Regions from separate parts of the Homo sapiens genome. Here regions 1, 2, 3, 4, 6 and 7 are each linked to region 5. Evidence: promoter capture Hi-C in 16 types of primary human blood cells and fetal thymus (Javierre and others, 2016). All regions are on one chromosome and are shown on one strand. Each heading gives the region's core, a stretch centred on a gene start or on the middle of the fragment in contact. The rest is flanking DNA. Distances are from core to core; before and after follow the strand shown.

What was found. Contacts are between HindIII fragments. The CHiCAGO score rates a contact against its expected background, and 5 or more counts as called.
Region 1: a fragment that was not itself captured here is called in contact with the fragment with the promoter of GMNN in region 5 in 11 of 17 cell types (total B cells, neutrophils, naive B cells and 8 more); the score reaches 13.0 in total B cells.
Region 2: a contact is called between a fragment that was not itself captured here and the fragment with the promoter of GMNN in region 5, in 12 of 17 cell types (non-activated CD4 T cells, total B cells, naive CD8 T cells and 9 more). The highest score is 12.5, in non-activated CD4 T cells.
Region 3: a contact is called between a fragment that was not itself captured here and the fragment with the promoter of GMNN in region 5, in 9 of 17 cell types (neutrophils, non-activated CD4 T cells, M0 macrophages and 6 more). The highest score is 12.0, in neutrophils.
Region 4: a fragment that was not itself captured here is called in contact with the fragment with the promoter of GMNN in region 5 in 8 of 17 cell types (neutrophils, activated CD4 T cells, total B cells and 5 more); the score reaches 10.0 in neutrophils.
Region 6: a contact is called between a fragment that was not itself captured here and the fragment with the promoter of GMNN in region 5, in 2 of 17 cell types (neutrophils and naive B cells). The highest score is 6.0, in neutrophils.
Region 7: a contact is called between a fragment that was not itself captured here and the fragment with the promoter of GMNN in region 5, in 1 of 17 cell types (activated CD4 T cells). The highest score is 6.2, in activated CD4 T cells.

The regions. Positions count from the first base shown.
Region 1 is chr6:24,427,446-24,430,221 of GRCh38, forward strand. It overlaps GPLD1 (glycosylphosphatidylinositol specific phospholipase D1), which reads right to left. Exons shown (of 25, transcript NM_001503.4): 25 at 1-1,673. The coding sequence ends at 1,587. Among named protein-coding and RNA genes, the nearest start is that of MRS2, 26 kb to the left of the region's middle. The HindIII fragment of the contact is 4,577 bases long and covers 1-2,776 here.
Region 2 is chr6:25,087,942-25,090,715 of GRCh38, forward strand. It overlaps the pseudogene CMAHP. Among named protein-coding and RNA genes, the nearest start is that of RIPOR2, 150 kb to the left of the region's middle. The HindIII fragment of the contact is 2,127 bases long and covers 420-2,546 here.
Region 3 is chr6:25,064,449-25,067,148 of GRCh38, forward strand. No RefSeq gene overlaps it. Among named protein-coding and RNA genes, the nearest start is that of RIPOR2, 130 kb to the left of the region's middle. The HindIII fragment of the contact is 888 bases long and covers 941-1,828 here.
Region 4 is chr6:25,144,796-25,147,519 of GRCh38, forward strand. No RefSeq gene overlaps it. Among named protein-coding and RNA genes, the nearest start is that of CARMIL1, 130 kb to the right of the region's middle. The HindIII fragment of the contact is 1,781 bases long and covers 366-2,146 here.
Region 5 is chr6:24,773,616-24,776,315 of GRCh38, forward strand. It overlaps GMNN (geminin DNA replication inhibitor), which reads left to right and starts at 1,322. Exons shown (of 7, transcript NM_015895.5): 1 at 1,322-1,629. RefSeq lists an enhancer at 2,237-2,316. The HindIII fragment of the contact is 2,242 bases long and covers 243-2,484 here.
Region 6 is chr6:25,127,885-25,130,626 of GRCh38, forward strand. The region is part of intron 2 of LOC124901282 (a long non-coding RNA gene); the gene reads left to right. It also overlaps the pseudogene CMAHP. Among named protein-coding and RNA genes, the nearest start is that of CARMIL1, 150 kb to the right of the region's middle. The HindIII fragment of the contact is 6,422 bases long and covers 1-2,742 here.
Region 7 is chr6:25,105,586-25,108,478 of GRCh38, forward strand. It overlaps the pseudogene CMAHP. Among named protein-coding and RNA genes, the nearest start is that of RIPOR2, 170 kb to the left of the region's middle. The HindIII fragment of the contact is 3,413 bases long and covers 1-2,893 here.

The sequences.
Region 1 (2,776 bases), core at 73-2,572, 350 kb before region 5:
ACAGCCAACTCTACAAAAGTATTGGAGGGCACAGAAGGGTGATAGTCTTGGTTTTTATATTTGTCCTTCACTATATAAACATTGAAAAGGTATTAATCCTCATTAAGAAAGGATTATCGGCCAGGTCCTGTGGCTCACACATGTAATCCCAGCACTTTGGGAGGTCAAGGTGGGTGGATCACCTGAGATCAGGAGTTCGAGACCAGCCTGGCCAACATGGTGAAACCCTGTCTCTACTAAAAATACAAAAATTAGCCGGGCGTAGTATTGTGCACCTGTAGTCCCAGCTGCCTGGGAGGCTGAGACAGGAGAATCACTTGAACCTGGGAGGCGGAGGTTGCAGTGAGCTGAGATCACATCACTGCACTCCAGCCTGGGCAACAGAGCAAGACTCCGTCTCAAAAAAAAAAAAAAAAAAAAAGGACTATCATCCTTAGCAAACTAACACACGACCAGGAACAGAAAACCAAATACCAAGTATAGCATGTTCTCACAAGTGGGTGCTAAGTTAAAAGAACTTATGAACACAAAACAACACACACTGGGGTCTACTTGAGTGGGGAAGGTGGGAGGAACAGAAAAGATAAAACCTTCACATGTACCACTGAACCTAAAATAAAAGTTAAAAAGGACTAAGTCACAAGTGATTTGGAATGTGAGGTTATCCCTCACCCCCATGCTTTACTCTGTACTATTTTTCCTCCCTCAGTTTCTTTTTTTTTTTTTTTTCTGTATACTATGCTTTCTATTATACTTTGATTGGCATGGGCCAATCTGTTATTTTTAAGTTCAACTTTTTTTTAACTTTTAAGTTCAGGGGTACATGCGCAGGAAGTGCTGGTTTGTTACATACATAAAGGTGTGTCATGGGGGTTTGTTACACAGATTATTTCATCACCCTAAGTATCCATTAGTTATTTTTCCTGATCTCTCCCTCCTCCCACCTTCCGCCCTCTCATAGGCCCCAGTGTGTGTTGTTTCCCTCTATGTGTCCACGTGTTCTCATTTAGCTCCCACTTACAAGTGAGAATATGGAGTGTTTGGTTTTCTGTTCCTGCAATAGTTTATGAAGGATAATGGCCTCCAGCTCCATCCATGTCCCTGCAAAGGGCATGATCTTGTTCTTTCTTTATGGCTGAACAATTCTTTTTTTAAAAAAGGATGTTTTTAGGAGGAATTGTGTACAGAGACTGTTCTAACAGATAACCACAGAGGGACCTTTCCAGCCATTGGAAAGACATTCAAGAGGAAGAGGAAATAGGTTGTACAGCAGGTCTGACTACAGGCAATAAGTTGGGAAAGAAGAAAGGTTTAGATGCAAAGGGAGCGAGGAAGTAAACTGTGGAAGGAGACATGAGTAAGCAGAATGTCTGCTATTTCACATATTTCTGGTGCAGTCATATATTTACTGTATCAGATTTCCAGAGGGTGTGGCTGTTAGTGTGTCTCTCTACTCCCAGGAGCCCCATGTCTATCAGGATCTACCACCGCTCCACTGGATGTGCCACTTTGTCCATCAAAATGCTCACCATGGATGTGATTCAGCATGAGAGAGGTGGGCAGAGTGGGGAAATGCAGTGAAATCTTCAATCTGAGCCAAGGCTATAGACGTGAAGTGCCCCGGAGAGTCGGGCTCCCAAAGAACTCCTTCCAGCAGCAATGACGACTTGGTTCTGTAAGGGACACAAGACAGAATTCATGGCTCATTCATAACATCTATTGAGTTCCTATGGTAGTCCAGGCATCATGCTATGCTCTAGAAATATAAAGATGAATAAGACACTGGCCAGATCCCCTGGCTTGAACTCAAATGCCACTTTCCCTTTGTTTACAGACCGCTTTCTCACATCTATAAGTTCTGAAAACCGCAGCTAAGGATGCTCACCCCAATCCCTATTCTGGCACATAAATCATAAAGGAGAAGTAGGGCAGTGCATGCTTAGTTCTGGTACAATGTGGAAAACATATCTTGAATAGTAAGGACTTCCCCTAGAAGCTGGCTTTGTCAATGTGTTTAGCGTACCTCCCACCTACCCTGCTGCTTAAAACATTTTAGGACCCATCTTTCAGAATTGCCTTCAAAACCTGCTGCAAGTTTTTAAAACATTTTCTTCTTTTTTGAAACAGAGTCTTGCCCTGTCACCCAGGCTGGAGTGCAGTGATGTGATCTCAGCTCACTGCAACTTCTGCTTCCTAGTTTCAAGTGATTCTCATGTCTCAGCCTCCCGAGTAGCGGAGATTACAGGCATGTGCCACCACATCTGGCTAATTTTTGTATTTTTAGTAGAGACGAGCTCTCACCATGTTGGCCAGGCTGGTCTCGAACTCCCGACCTCAAGTGATCCACCCGCCTCGGCTTCCCAAAGTGCTGAAATTACAGATGTGAGCCACCATGCCTGGTCTTTAAATATTTTCAGTGGTGGCAAATCTTCATACTCCGAGGTCGGATTTGATTTGTGGAAACTGACAAAAGTTATTCTGAACCAAAGCTGGCACATGAGGTACGGGTGATCAAACTGGCTGACAGTATTTTGGTCAGAGCAGGATATGACAGTTTCTTATTTAATTTTGAAAACTACTGATGAAATCTAGAAATAATAATAATAGCTAAAATTTGTGGAGGTTGTATCATGGGTCAGACACTATGCTTAGCCCTGTGCTTATCTTATCCCTTAATACCCAGTGTCAATTAATAGGGAAAATCTACACTTAAGAAAACAGCATCAAATGGTACTTTATTCTCCCTCTCTTTCCCAATTTATGGAATTACTCATTT
Region 2 (2,774 bases), core at 233-2,732, 310 kb after region 5:
TAGAAACATGATTCTACAATTTGGTCAGGTTAAGGTCGGCCTGGCTAAGATGCAGTACCAGGACCTGGTTCCTCCCAATGCAGGGTAAATGGCCTTTTTTGGCCTTTTAGCTGGGAGAGAAGCACACAGGAGAATTGGAAGTAGATTTAAGAAATATTTGGGGTGTAAAATGGAAAGGTCTAGATGACTGATTAGATTTGGGGATGTAAGGAAAAGGGAAGAACCAAAGATTACTCATTTGTTTCTAGCTTGACTGACTTGGGGAATGATATTACCAACGATCAGATAGAAAAAGGAAAAAGAACATTTTAAAGAAGGAAGATGAGGAATTGAACTTTGAACAAGTTGAAAATTATGTATTAAGCATTCAGAAATTCAGACAATTATATCTAGCAGGCAGTTGACTATTAAGAACCCAAAGCTTGACAGCACTGGAGGTAGCCAGAGAGCGCTCTGGGCTGGACATATGGATTATTTTTGGAGTCATTAACAGAGAAGTGATGTTAGCAGGTGAGTTTACCCAGGAAGAGACTTGGGAAGAACAGTGGAATGAACACAGAGTCCTGGAAGGAAACAAGAGACTTAAGCAGTGGCTGGGGAAAGAGGAACTCCAAAAGAATGCAAAAGAATATTCAGGAAAACAAGGAGGTACTGTCACTGGGCTAAGGAGAAGACTATTGGTTCACAATGACGGACAAATTGCGTGCATAACCTATCTCCTCTGCATTTCCAGATCCAACTAAAATGTTGCAAAGCAATTATACAGGAATAAACTGCCACATTGAAAAGAAAAGGAAGTGATTCATTGACAGGAGAATTCAACTAATTACGTGAATCTAGAAAGCATGCAGACAAGTGGAAACCGAAGATGCAGGGCAGAGGCTGTACAATCCCAGACAGTACATGGAGGGGTGTTCAGATGTGGAGGGAAGAGAAGTAGGTACTGCGGATGACAGGAGGGCAAGCACAAAAGTTATGTCCATGAGATAGCTGGCCCCTTCTCTACCCCTATATATGGCTCCCAGGTCAAATATATTTCTACAGTTCTCTCAATACATAGAATCAATTTTGGGGTAGGGGGAGAACAAGGGCAGGTAGTGTGTTTGTGATGCTGAAAGCAAGAGCCTCCACATTTTTGCACTCGGGGGTCCCCTAGCTGGCTTCTCTCCTCACCTTCACAGCTTAAAGCATACTGATGATCCTTTGGCCAAATACAGCCTAGCTCTCATTTCATGTAGTCTATAACTCTTTAAGAACATTGACTCAGCTTTCTACATTTATAACTTTGGGTATTTCACATGAAAATCCAGATTTCCAAGTTCTCTGGAAATTTCAGATCAGCCGGAGCTCAGCAGGCCTGCCCCCTTCTCATCCCGCATTCTACTTGATGCAGTCTGCCCCAGCTTCACCAGTTTATGAGATGTGCCTTGCACCAGTGTGCGAGCCCTCTGTAAGTAGAGCCTACTGGATGACAGATCCTACACCTATACATAAGAGCCCCAAATCAGCTGAAAAAAGTCTTTTTATCAGTAAATATGGACTAATCCTGTAATTCTTAAAAGTCACCCACAAAGAAAGGAGGATCAAGCTAGCATAAGTTTTCTTTAGAGCAACCTTGTCTATAACTGGAAGCCAAAGGAGCAATGCCTTCCGGTGTCTATGGAAAATGATTAGTCACCCAGAATTACATGCTGAAACTTACTTACACACCATGAGGCAGGAGACAGTTAAGCAGAAAGTCCCACATAGAAGTGAAGCAAGGAAGGGAAAGGCATGGGTGGGGTCTGGAGGCAGTGAAAGGTAGCAGATTTGCAGCAGAGCTAGAGAGGAGCCCTTCCAGGTCGGAGCAGGAGGATGGAGAGCTACAGGAGCCATGCATTTAAGAATGGAGAGTTAGTGTGATAGAAATGATGAGTTTGAAAGGCAATTAATACCTCCAAAAAGGTGGCAGGAGGGAGGCAATATGAGAAGTCTCCGGGTAGCAAGAAAAGGAGCTCTTCCACACATAGGCATAACCTCTTTAACCAAACCTCAGCATATAGAACTCTCCCTAAAATCCTGGGAGATAAAAGCCCTCAAGCCACAGTATAACAGTACCATGTGCAGAGCAGGCATCATGATTTTGCCCCATGGTGTATTTAAATATGCAACAGAGCTGCTGCTTGCTTTATCCAGCAGATGCATTATGGAAAGCTGTGAAAAAGTGATTTTTTTTCCAAATTAAATATTTTAAATGAAGTTATTTAAAAATTTTCAAAGGTGAATCTCTTGAGGCTAAGAAACCTCAATTTATAGGTTTTGTAAATTCAGATTTGAAAGGCTACACAGTGGCTAAGAGCATAGACTTTGAGCTAGACTGCTTGAGTTAAAGCCCCGCATCACCATTCATTAGCTGTATAACCATGGGCAAGTTATTCTAACTCTTATAATCCCAGTTTCTTCCCCCACAAAATGGGGGCAGATAGTAGTATCTGTTCACAGGGTTGTTGTTGGATTAAATGTCTTAACATTTCCAAAGTGTTTAACACTGTGCTTGGCATAAAGCAAGCTTGGTAAGTATTTGATATATAAAGCAATAAATGTAAAGATTTATTTTGTCTAAAAAGATGTAAGCCTATTTATCATCTATACGGTGCCTCACACAGGATTTTCTTACCTGTAAAAATCCAGTTTTTTTGTTTGTTTTTTGAGACCGAGTTTTGCTCTGTTGCCCAGGTTGGAGTGCAATGGCATGATCTCGGCTCACTGAAACTGCCGTCTCCTGGGTTCAAGCG
Region 3 (2,700 bases), core at 135-2,634, 290 kb after region 5:
GCCAAGCATCTGAAGCCAGGAAGAATTGAGAAATTATGGAGGGGAGAATTTCAAGGAGAAAAGGTTGAGGTTTAAAGCAGTCAGCCATGAGGGGTAGGGGAAAAGTCCCAGTGTACAAGACATGGCTGTTGACAGTCTGTGAACAGGACCAAGGAGGCAGCGGATGATGAGAACATGCTGCTCTACCACTTATGGGTAGAGTGGGCATATAATTGTTGGCCAAAACCAAGACCTTTTGAGAGCGAGAGGGCACTGTTAATAATTGTACCGGGAAGACTGCAATAAACCAAGACTGGTTTGGGCATACCAGAACACAGGGTCACTCTAACTAGGGCTACTAACAGTAGGGCTAGGATTGTTTTCTGATAGCAGTGATGGCTATGCATGGATTCATCCACAGCCCCTCCATCCATCATCCTTTTGGGGTTGCAGGATGGCTGGTGAGGAATGTATTAACTAGCCTTGGTCTTTGTAGCCCTGTGCTCTAACCAACAGAGTTTATCTCCAGACACAGTAGAGTCAGGGGACAAAAGATACAATTTCAATAATTAATTAACTTATTTAATTAAACCAACCATTAGCTAAGCAAGGCAGTATAGCAGAGTGGTTAGTGAATTTCACTTTGAGGTTTAGCTCTCAGTGATGTGACTCGGCACGATACTTAATTTCTATGAGTCTCAGGCTTCTGATCTGTAAAATAGGGACAAGAGCAAACACTATCTGAGCTTTTACTTTGTTTTGGGTGCTGGGCTAAGCACTTTATGTGGATTATTTAATATCATCATAACCTTATGAAGCAGGAACTATCATTATCTCCATTTTGTAGACCAGGGAACTGGAGCTCAGTGGGACAGAGTAACTTGCTTGAGGTCAGACCATCAGTAAATACCAATTCTACAGGGGCTGTTTTTGGTGATTAAATGAGACAATGCTTATTAAAAGCTTAGCATATTCCACCTAATTAAATTGATTAATTGTGGCCCCTTTTATGCAAAGTTCAATATTAGACCCTTTCTTTCTTCCTTTTTTTTTTGAGATGGAGTCTCACTCTGTTGCCTAAGCTGGAGTGCAATGGCACAATCTCGGCTCACTGCAACCTCCACCTCCCGGATTCAAGCGATTCTCCTGCCTCAGTCTCTGGAGTAGCTAGGATTACAGGCATGTGCCACTACGCTCGACTAATTTTTGTATTTTTAGTAGGGACGGGGTTTCACCATGTTAGTCAGGCTGGTCTCAAACTCCTGACCTCAGGTAATCCACCCGCCTCGGCTTCTCAAAGTGCTGGGATTACAGGCATGGGCCACCAGGCCTGGCCATCTTTATTCTTATTAAACATCCTTCCTTGGAAAAAGAGGATGTATTATTGTGACTTACGTGTGTTGACCAAAAATAAAATGAGTCACACATCTGAAGTCTGATGGCACTGGGGCAGTCTGCAACATTCAAGGGTTTTTCTGATCCCTGTACTCTTGTGTCTTCTGCTGAGAACAGAGATGTATATATTCATGTTAGTAGGAGAAAATAGGTTTAAGCCACTTTTAGTAATTGAGATGAATGTTTCATATAAAGGATGGCTAGCAGCCACAATGCTGGGTGGGGAGAAAATGGCCAAATATTTAATATTTGAAATCAAATTACTTCAGATCTGAATTCTGGGCCCCCCACTATTGTGGCTCTGGGCATGTTACTGAGCCTCCTTGAGCCTTCGTCTATAAAATGGGTTGAATAATACATATCTTTCAGAGTTGCTATGAGGATTAGAGATAATATATGCAAAACAGTCACATAATGGACACTCAATAAACACTAGTCATCATGACTGTTAAAAAGCTTAGCATGGCCAGGTGCGGTGGCTCAAGCCTGTAATCCCAGCACTTTGGAAGGCTGAGGCGGGTGGATCACTAGAGGTCAGGAGTTTGAGACCAGCCTGGCCAACATGGTGAAACCCCGTCTCTACTAAAAAATACAAAAATTAGCTGGGCATGGTGGCAGGCGTCTGTAAGCCCAACTACTCAGGAGGCTGAGGCAGGAGAATTGCTTGAACCCGGGAGGCGGAGGTTGCAGGGAGTCGAGATCACGCCATTGCACTCCAGCCTGGGTGACAAGAGTGAGACTCCATCTCAAAAAAAAAAAAAAAAAAAAGCAAAGCATATTGACTGAAAGCCAGTAGAAAGCCCAAATGTAAGTCCTTAATAATAATTTAACATTCAGTATTACTGTTTTCTTACATTTGTAATTTGGATACTTTGGATCATATTTCCAACCCACCACATGTCAGGAGAACCCTCTGAATGAAATCCTTTAATACTCTTTAATATCCTAAGAGAGGACAGCATTGTTGACATGACCCATCTCTGAAAGCCCCAAGAATCTGAAACATCCAGGCTGTTCTTGCTGCAGCTGGGAAAATAAAATATCCACATGTATACTTAAACCCAGTTATTTTATTTTATTTTTTAAAGTGTCCTAAGTGGAGAAAAAGCAGCAGATACAGGATGGAGAGGGAGAATTCCTCCTAAACCAATTCCGAATTCCTCCTAAACCAATGCTTGTGTTTTGGGAACTTATTTCCAGGCCTCCTGAGCCCTTCCCCTCCCACCTAGCCACTCTCATGTCTCCAGAAATGCCTTTAGCATTGCAAAGCACAGGTTTTGTGGGCACACTGGGAGTATGCTACGAACTTGCAAAGGTCCTGGGGCC
Region 4 (2,724 bases), core at 6-2,505, 370 kb after region 5:
TGGCCTACGCCTGTAATCCCAGCTACTTGGGAGGCTGAAATAGGAGAACTGCTTGAACCCAGGAGGCGGAGGTTGCAGTGAGCTGAGCTCATGGCACTGCACTTCAGCCTGGGTGACAGAGTGAGACTCCATCTCAAAAAAAAAAAAAAAAAATTAGCCAGGCATGGCAGTATGCATCTATAGCCCTAGCTACTTGGTAGGCCAATATGTAAGTATCACTTGAGCCCCCAGTTCAAAGCTGGGGTGACCTATGATCACACCACTGGACTCCAGCCTGGGAGACAGAGCAAGACCCTGTATCTTAAATAAATAAATAAATTAATTAATTAATTAATTAAAACATCTACAAAAAATGAGAAAGTAGAAGCTTTCTTACTAAGATAAGGACAAGGCAAGGATGTCGTCTCTCACCACTGCTTTTCTACATTGCATTGAAAGTTCTAGACAATAAAATAGGGCAAATAAATAAATAAGTGGTATACAAATTGGGAAGAAAGAAGTAAAACTGTTTTTGTTCACAGATAACATGATTGCCTATGTAGAAAATCTGAAATAATCAATTCTTAAATGTGGGCTGCACATAGAGACTTCCTTTCATAGAGACTTCCTTTCAAAGAGTACAGTATGGAAATGATGAAAAAAAGAGTAACTTTAACAGTAAGGAAATGTGACAATCCGTCAATATCAACGGTGATAAATTATGTTAGAATGTAACTTTAATATGATGTGGTCTTCCTCCTGCAAACCCATAATCCCAGTCTAACCATGAGAAAAAAAATCAGATAAATTCCAGTAGAGAGGTAACCTATAAAATACATGGTCTGTACTCCTTGAAACTCAAGGTCATCCAAAACAAGAAAAATCTAAGTAAATATTACAGCCAAGAGAAGCCTAAGGAGACATGATAGCTCCTTAGCTAATGTGATGTGGTATCTTAGATGTAACCCTGAAACAGAAAAAGACATTAGGTAAAAGTAAAGAGACCTGAATAAGCTACTCAGCACATTAAGGCAAGAAAAAAAAAAGTCAAACACATAAGGAGTGGAAAGAAAAAAAATCATTTTTGAAGATACTTAGAACTGACTGTATACATAAACATTCAGAAGAACCCACATATAAATTATAAGACTCTGAGAGTTTAGTACAGCTGTTAGATATATAATCAATAGTTTAAGAAATCAATTTATTCTCACATCAGCAATAAAAAATACAAAAATTGAATTTAAAAATATATCATTTAAGATAGCAGAAAAGGCTGAGGTGGATCACCTGAGGTCAGGAGTTCGAGACCAGCCTGGCCAACATGGTGAAACCCCGTCTCTACAAAAAATACAAGATTAGCCGGGTGTAGTGGCACATGCCTGTAATCCCAGCTGCTCAGGAGGCTGAGGCAGGAGAATTGCTTGAACCCGGGAGGCAGAGATTGCAGTGAGCCGAGATCGTGCCATTGCACTCCAGCCTGGGCAACAAGAGAGAAACTCCATCTCAAAAAATAAATAAATAAATAAAAATTAAAAGATAGCATAAAAAATGAAATATCAAGAAATACATTTAACAAAAGATGATCTCTTTGGAGAAAATTATAAAACTCTATTGAGAGATATTAAGTGTATCTATAAACGAAGAGTTATATTATGTTCATAGATAGGAAGCTCAATATTATGAAGATAATCAATTTACTCCAAATTTATCTGTAGATTTACTATAGTCTCAATAAAACCCCCAGAATTTTTTTTTTTTTTTTACAGCTTAAAAACTTACTCTAAAATTTATTAAGATATGCCAAGGGCCAAAAAGAGAAAAAACATTCTTCAAGAAGAACAAGGTGGGAGATGAGAGAGGATTTGTCCTAGCAAATATCAAGACTTATTGTAAGCTATAATAATTAAGATCATATAGTGTTGGCTCAGTGGTAGATAAAATAATCAAGGGAACAGGATAGAGGCCTGGAAACAAGTCCACATATACACCAACACTTGATAAGTGACACTGTAGATCACTAGGGAAAGGATAAATGTTTCCACTAAACTTGCTGGGGTAACTGGGATCCCATATTGGAAAAATAGATTGGACTCTTTCCTTATTCCATAGATAAAAATCAATTTCAGACAAGTTAAAAGACTTACATTTAAAAGATAAACAATCAAGCTTTTGGAAGGTATTTAGGAGAAATTTTTTATAATCTTGGGACACGGTGGATTTTTTTCAACAAAACACAAAAAGCTCTACCCAAAAGGAAAATTATTGCAATTTTAGATTACACCAAAAGAACATATACACCCCAAAACACAATAAAAGAGTAAAAAGGTAAGACACATAATGAAAATTTGCAACATAAATATGACAAAGGATTTCTATGCAGAATATAGAAGAATGTCTATAAATCAATAAGAAAAAGACAATCTATAAGAAAAATGGGCAAAAAGGTTTGAATAGGTACTTCATAAAATAGAATATCCAAATTGTGACTAACTGTATAAACAGAGCTCAGCCTCACTAGCAATGGGGAAGTGAAAATAAAAACCACAATGAAGTACCACTATACTTACCAGAACAACTAAAATTAAAACAACTGCAAGTACTAAATGTTGATAATAGGAGTATGGAAACTCTCATATGTTACTAATGACAATGTAGTGAGGTTCAATCTCATTGAAAAATAGTGTGGCATTCTACACTAAAACAGAGAATACACATATACTGTCACCTAACAATCCTACTCTT
Region 5 (2,700 bases), core at 72-2,571:
TATCAACACAAGGCCAATACTGTTTTATTCGCACCAGTGGTTCTCAACTGGGGATGATTTTGCCCTGCGGAAGGTTATCTGACAAGGTCTGCAGACATTTTTGGTCTTCACAATTGGGATGTACTCCTGGTAGCTAGAGGGTAGAGGCCAGGGATACTGCTAAACAGCATACAATGCCCAGGACAGCCCCCACCACGAACAATTTGCCCAGTCTAAAATGTCAATAGAGCCCATACTGAGAAAGCTTGATTTATACCTTTTCCCTTGCTTCTCTCAATAATTATTTCAAATAAAATATATGGTATAAAATTTCATCTGTAATTACCATTTATAGGTAGAAGCTATTACAATAAAACCCACAATATTGTCATTACAACTAATCTCTTTTTTTAACCCATTGCTCATCAGGTAACCTTAAACAACTCATATCTTACCATCCCAAAATATTCAGTCAGTGTTCAAATTTCCCTTGGGTATTTTTTTAAATACAGTGTTTAGTTCAGACGAGATCCATACATTGCATTTGGTAATATGTCCCTTATTTGTACTCGATAACGCCTTCCTTCTGCTTTTTATTTTTAAAATATTTTAAAATTAATTTTTTTTTGAGACAGGGTCTCCCTTTGTCTGTAGTCCCAGCTACTCGGGAGGCTGAGGCAGGAGAATCGCTTGAACCCGGGAGGCGGAGCTTGCAGTGAGCCGAGATCGCGCCACTGCACTCCAGCCTGGGTGACAGAGCGAGACTCCGTTTCAATTAAAAAAAAAAAAAAGAAGGAAAAGGCTAGACGTAATTATTACCAAGGTGTTTCTGCTCCTTCAAATTGCAACAGCAGTTGTAATTTCAGTGCCTAGAACAGTAGTAATTGGCACGTATAAGGCGCTCAATGAATAGCTGCAGGATTAACTGATAATCGGTTGTCTCCTGAACAATTCCTACCGCACCACACCATAGTCAAAACACAAAAAGCCAAAATATAAAAGCCCCTAATACAACTACGAGTCCGTGGAGCCAGGGCTTTACACAAATATATGTCGTGTACTACATATTAATATATATGCACATACAATATTTTGTTCTTCTGGTGCTAACGACTAATGGAGGCAAATCTTTCTCCCTTTCGTAAAGGGCTAAAACTTTGCATTTTAAGGAAGTTCCAAGAGCAGGGTCGGAGGGGAGGGTCAAAGGGCACAGGCCTCCCAGCCCGCAGAAAACCCCCACGGTCCTCAAGTACTCGCTACCGTTGACCGCGCAGGCGCAGGAAGGGGCGGGGCCGAGGGAAGAGGCGATTCGCGGGATCCAGAGGCCCCGCCCCTCGTCTGCGTCAGTTGGTCACGTGGTTGTTCGGAGCGGGCGAGCGGAGTTAGCAGGGCTTTACTGCAGAGCGCGCCGGGCACTCCAGCGACCGTGGGGATCAGCGTAGGTGAGCTGTGGCCTTTTGCGAGGTGCTGCAGCCATAGCTACGTGCGTTCGCTACGAGGATTGAGCGTCTCCACCCAGTAAGTGGGCAAGAGGCGGCAGGAAGTGGGTACGCAGGGGCGCAAGGCGCACAGCCTCTAGACGACTCGCTTTCCCTCCGGCCAACCTCTGAAGCCGCGTCCTACTTTGACAGCTGCAGGGCCGCGGCCTGGGTAAGGGCGAAGGGGTTGTTGAACGGTCGCGGGAGCCGGGGCGGGGTTGGGAGGTGAGTCGAGGGACTGCCCCATTGGCTGGGTCGGTTTTGGCGCGCTCTCACTTCCGCGCTTCCTATTGGCTGGCTGGCGCAGTTCCCGAGGCGCGCGCCGCGGTTGGTAGGCTCGGACGCGCGGGGCCACACTGCCCGCCCCCTAGCCTGGCGCTGGGCCTCCGGGACAAGTTGGCTGGGTCCGGGCTTGGGGACTGCAACGCGGGTAAGGGACTCAGCCTGGGCTTGCCAGCTGTGGGGATGAGGCGAAGCATCCATCCTCTTGGCAGTTAAGTGGCTGGTCCTGATCTGAGGGATCTGCAAATTTGGCTCATGGAAAGAGGTGGCTGAATTCTGCGTCTCCCATTAAACGGATACTGGCGTTGTTGATACGGGTTTCGCATGGACCCTGTCCTGTGCCAGGGTTTTTAATCTAGCTATTAAAGGAACTGGAGAATAACAAGTAAGGGTTGCAAGGTCGCTGACAGGCGTGGGAAACTTGTGAAGGATTAGAATGCTAAGTGGCTTTCAGCTTTTTTCACACTAAGGTACGTTTTACGTCGCAACCTAGGACACAGCTATCTAACCAAATGAGACGTGATGGAAGCAATGTTTCTCGTCTCTTCAATTCCATTCTGTTCAGTTGCATTTTTCTAAGCAGTGTTGCTCATGACTCACTAATTTCGAGATCACGGCCCGCGACCCGCAGTTTGAAGAACATTGCGTAGGGTCTGTTTACTGGGGCCCGAACACCATTTTCTTAACATGAAATAGAGTAGAAAATAGCAGGATGCCCGCACAAATTAGATTGTTTTGTTTTCTAAGCTTTTTTTTTTTTTGAGACGGAGTCTCGCTCTGTTGCCCAGGCTGGAGTGCAGTGGCAGGATCTCGGCTCACTGCCACCTCCACCTGTCGGGTTCAAGCGATACTCCTGCCTCAGCCTCCCGAGTAGCTGGGACTACAGACGAGCACCACCACGTCCGGCTAATTTTTGTATTTTTGGTAGAGATGGAGTTTCACCATATTGGCCAGGCTGGTT
Region 6 (2,742 bases), core at 154-2,653, 350 kb after region 5:
TAGCTACGAAGAGAATCCAACTATAATTTACTGAACTCAGAGAAGTGGATGGGAGAATACAGAGCATAAGTTAACACAGAAATGCAGTCTCAACGTGCAAATGCTTGGTGAGCTGCATCTGGGAATAAAGCTGGCAGAACCTGCTTCCTCATGGGCAGGAGAGCTAAGAGGGGAGGACTAATGTGTCAAGAGAACAGGTCAATCACCTGTAAGGCTTTGAATGAAGAAGAGAAAGGCTAGTCTGTGGGAAAGCAATCACTATACTTAGATGAGCATATTAGATACAAAAACAATCTGAGTTCCTGTAAAAAAGTCCCTCTGTATAAGCTACACAAGAAGCTCATTGCAGAGAAATAGTAACTATAATTCACTTTTTTGAGGTGCTTGCCATATACCACCATATGGCATTCTTTTAAGTTTTATGTGTTTGGCATCACTTAATCCTCTCAGCAACCTGACAAAGTAGGTAATATTTTCATCCTCATTTTAGAAATGAGAAGACCGAGGTCCAGAAAGGCTAAGAAACCTGTCGAGGGTTATGACCTAGCTAGTAAGTCGTGGAATCAGGCTTCTAAACCAGGTAGTCTATAAGGAGAGATGATGCTCTTAATCAGTAAACTTTAAGGCCTCCTTAAATGGCTGGCTAAGTGGCACTCTGTGAAATGGCCCGCTAAGTTAAAAAACTAGGAGAGGAAACCCAGAGACAGAGTCCCAAAGCTGTAATAGTTGGAAGAGAAAACTCCAACACCTTGAAGTGCTGGCGGAAGTTTACCAGTGACAGAACTATGTCTGAGGCTTCACTGACTTGAATCCACCCAGAAGATGGAAGAACATCAAAATGGGCCATCAGGGAATTACTTAGAGGTTCTCCTAGAGCAGAGTTGCCAGCTAAAAGGGTGTCCCATTAACTACTTTGGACATATTTATACTAAAAATACATTAGTTTTTTTAAATCTGAAATGCACATTTAACTGGGCATCCTGTATTTTTATTGGTCAAGCTGGCAGCCCTATCTGAGGAGCCAAGCAAGCTACAGGTGCAATACTGGTGTGAAAGGAAAATATCTTGGGCCCCCCAAATCGCTAAGCTAAAAGGGAAAGTCAAGCTGGGAACTGCTTAGGGTAAACCTGCCTCACATTCTATTCAAAGTCACCCCTCTGCTCACACTGAGATAAATGCATATCTGATTGCCTCCCTTGGAAAGGCTAATTAGAAACTCAAAAGAATGCAACCAATTATCTCTTATCTACCTATGACCTGGAAGCCCCCTCCCTGCTTCAAGTTGTCCTGCTTTTCCAAACCGAACCAATGTTCATCTTACATATGTTAATTGATGTCTCTTGTCTCCCTAAAATGTATAAAACCAAACTGTGCTCTCACCACCTTGGGCATATATCATCAGGGCCTCCTGAGGTTGTGTCATGGCCAAATGTCCTCAACCTTGGCAAACTAAACTTTCTAAATTAACTGAGACCTGTCTCAGATTTTCAGGGTTCACATTTTGGTAACCATGAAGGGATTCTGAGTGGAGATGCCCCTGACCTTTGACAAATCTATGCTTGGTACCAGCATGAGCTAACTTTATGGCTCAAACCAATAGGACAATTTGCTGAGGCCTGAGAGCACCCCCTCCAGAGAATCCCTGATGTCCCCAAATGTGGTAGAGATCTAAAGTTTATTTTGCTGGAAAAAAAAAAAAAAGCAAGTAAAATTCCAAAAAAACTTTTACTTGCTTCCAAAAAGGAAGGGAAGATTTCCTGTTTCCATGGCTATGGAAGACAGGTAACTCTTTTATGGAGTTTGAGCTCACTTCCAACAGGGAAGATGAGTTTTTTTTCTCTCTGCTTCTAGTATGGTAGAGAGCAGTCTACACCCTGAGACCCATCCCTAGCTAAGTAACTGAATTGGGGTTTGTCTTGGCTAAAGTTAAGATTAACAACCAGCTGGTCTTAATTTCTCCTTACTATTAGAGTACTCAGTAATGATATAAGTTGTGTGATTGTTTTGCTTAACTGTTTTTGTTGTTGTTGTTGTTCATTCCTGTTTTCACTGTTGTTTTGGACTTTTTCCCATTGGGTTTGATCAACTCTATCCAACTTGATCAAATCCAAAGGAAATTCCAAATTATGGGGAACAAGGCCTCTGAAGTGGCTAAATTCTCACACACACACACACACACACACACACACTCACGCACACACGTGGTATGGGGTGGAGGGGAAAAAATGGCCAGAAAAAGGAAAAAAAAAAAAAACAAAAAGAAAAATTTTTTATTCTAAGGGTCTTCATTTACATAACAAGGCCACCTTTTTGTTAGCCAGGCCAAACTGAAAGAGCAATGGCTGTACTTCTGAAATAGCAGCAATTTGTCCTAGCTGAAATATGGTAATGAGATTTTAAAAGTTTTTTTTTAAGGAGCTCAATGGTTAAAAGTCAGCTTAATTAAAACCTAACATCCAAGATGCGTGCGTGTGTGCGCACGCGCGCACGCATATGTGTGTGTTTGTATTTAAAAGGACTTCATGTTTTTGTTTTTCTCCTGGGACCTTGTCTTTTTTTTTTTTTTTTTTTGAGCAAAAGTTTTTTTCTTTTCAGTTGACAGAATTCTGTTTTCTTCATTTACTTCTACTATCTCTCCTTTCTCTTGCACCCTCTGCTGCATGGAGGACCTAAAATAGTTTATAATAGCCTGGGGTTCCTTAAAGAAAATGGAGAAGGCACCAGACTCCCTTTCCAGGGAAA
Region 7 (2,893 bases), core at 340-2,839, 330 kb after region 5:
CCATAGGCACTGTGATATCAGATTAAAAAACAAACTACCCTGCCAGATTTTATCTTCGATTCCTGCATATTTGGCAAGCAATTCTTTTGTTTCAAGAAAATCTTGAAATTAATCATGTAGGTTTTCTTGACTTAACTGAGCATTGGCAAAGGGGACAAGATCAAATTCATGGTCTTTTATTTCTTTCAACAATTTCATACATTGGTGATGATTCATAGTATTTGCAGAAGTTATATTGCTGCAAGAAAAATCACATTAGATACCTAAAACATGAGAAGAAAGACATAATTCTATTCTGGAATGCAGTATGGTATAGAGAAAAGAGCTTTAGAACTAAGCATACCAGGGTTCCATTCTCAACTCATGTTTCCAACAGGGTGACTTTGGGCACGTCCCTTGACCTTTCTGAGTTTCAGATTCCTTATCTGCAAAAAAGGAACAATACCCCCTTCCTACGCATAGTGCTATTGGGAGATTAACTTAGATGGCTTAGTTAAAAGTCCCCAGTTCACTTCACATAATAAATGGCAGTTGCCATCCTCTTTCCTGGGATCCTTTCGGAGAATATCTATCTGTTATTTTATCTCCTGAAAGAGTTCCTGGCTGCCAAGTGTAACTTTTATTCATGCTCTGGGTTCTCCAGCAGCTTGTTAAAAAGTTCCAGACACCTACTAATCACTTTCCTTCTCATGTCACACTGCTTTCACAGCAAAGTCGCTCATTCCACCATACGTTAAGTTGTATGTAAAAATGTACAAAGTGTCTAGCCATACTTGTCTGATGGGTGAGATTCCACAAAATACCCAGCAAAGGGACAATAAATTCGGGGTTGCAGGTTCTTCACCAGCCGAGCCTTGTAGTTCAGGAGCTTCTTCCTTTCTGTTTTAATGAATTGGGCTTTCCATTCCTCTGAAATGACAGGATTTAGATTAGAGTCTCCTCTGCTGGAAAAATCACAGAAAAACACATGTTCTAGCAGATTGGAACTCTTTCAGGAGATAAAATTGATAGGTAACTAAGGCAGAAATAGAACAAGGCTCCATGTCATTAGTGGAGGATTTCCCCGGAGTTTTTATCTTGGAAATTTCAATTGGTTACTAGGAAAATGTTACCAAGCCAGCCAAAGGCACTGAGCTTTCTCCTTGTATATGGCAATTCATTCGGACCCTAGCTGAATACACAGGGTAGGATGCATAATCGTAGTTGGTGTGCATGCACATTTTAAGGGCATTGTAATTCTTGAAATTAACTCTTTACTAACATGAAAATGGCTTCATTATATTTGTAGATTATAACAGGTGTGTTCAACATAATCTGACAAATACACAGTGATTAAGAGCATGACGTTGGAGTCAGTTAGGTTGAAAATCCTGACCCACCACTTACTGGTTGGGCAGCCTTGGGCAAACTACCTAACTTCTCCATGTCTGTATCTTCTCTGTAAATGGAGTCATGATGCCCCTCTCACAGTGCCGTTCATTTGCTTATTCATTCACGTAACCAATATTTATTGTGCACCTACTCTGTGTCAGACGTGGTTCTAGCCACTGGGAATAAAGTGGTGAACAAGGCAAAGCAGGTCCCTGCTCTCATGGAGTGTTCATTCTAGTGAGAGAAGCAAATAATGAACAAGTAAATAAAGTCATTGCAAAGAATGATGCACCGTGAAGAAAATAAAACAGGGCAATGGAACAGAGAGTGGCTGGGGTGAGTGGGATGAGATGGAGGGAATCATTAGACAGGATGGTCAGTGAAGAGGTGACATTTGAGTTGAGACATAGATGAAAAGTTGCTGGTCACATGCAAATCAGGGCCAGCTGCACTCCAGGAAATGGAAACAGCAAACACAAAGACCCAGGGCAGGTGTGCACTTGACACTTTGGGTCTAAGAAACAAAAAGCAGGATGGGCTGATATATAGCAAGCATCAGAGTGACAGGCAGTGAAGGAACTTGAGGAATTAGACAGGACGCAGAACATACAGGGTAGAAGGTCAGAGAGCTGTTACTGTTATTGTTTCTATAAAATTTGACAAACACAGACAAGGATACAGAAAAAATATACAAGCTACCCATCACCTAGACATAATATTTTGGTATATTCAAGACCTTTTTAAATGTATATGTGTGTACTCACGCACATGTGCACACACACACAAACTCACCATCACACAGAATGGCATGATGCTAGTTAACCCTTAATAAGTATGTTTTACCTTCCCAGTCACACTTTTAACTTCTTAAGGACAGAACCTTCCCTCTATTTCTCATGTGGTTACACACTCCGGGAGGCAATGAATATAGACTTAGAGAAGAAAGCAAAGAACGGGACAAAGGTTATCTTCATATTGCAAAGCAGGGCATTTTCTGCCACACTGTTAGACAGGGATCACTTATCAGATACATTAATTTATTAAGTGGACATGTATTGAGCACTTACAATACTAGTGTTGAGGATACACACTTCCCCAATGTCAACCCCAACCCCACTCTTGGACCCAGAGCAGAAGGGCTCCTGCCTAAGACCCCCAACCAGAGGACCCTCCTCTGGGTGCACTAGAGGTCCCCAACTAGAGGACTCTCTTCTGGGCACACTGCTCCCTGATATGAGCATCCACAGTGCCAAGGGGATGTGTCTACATTGAGGCTGCACACACCCCATTAGGAACCATATTCCAAGAGCACCTAAGCCTGGATGACCCACTTCAGGCCTTTCCTGTTCTGCTCTACGGTCTACATGGTGAATCCAGATGATTCTCTTTCTTGGCTCCTCCTGAGGTGCTCTCAGATCTCAACATTTCCTTCATGCTCCATCATGTTTTGAGCTAGAAACCTTAGTTGGTAATCTGCAACTTACAAATCTGGTTTCCCAATAAGATTGCATGCTTCTTGTGG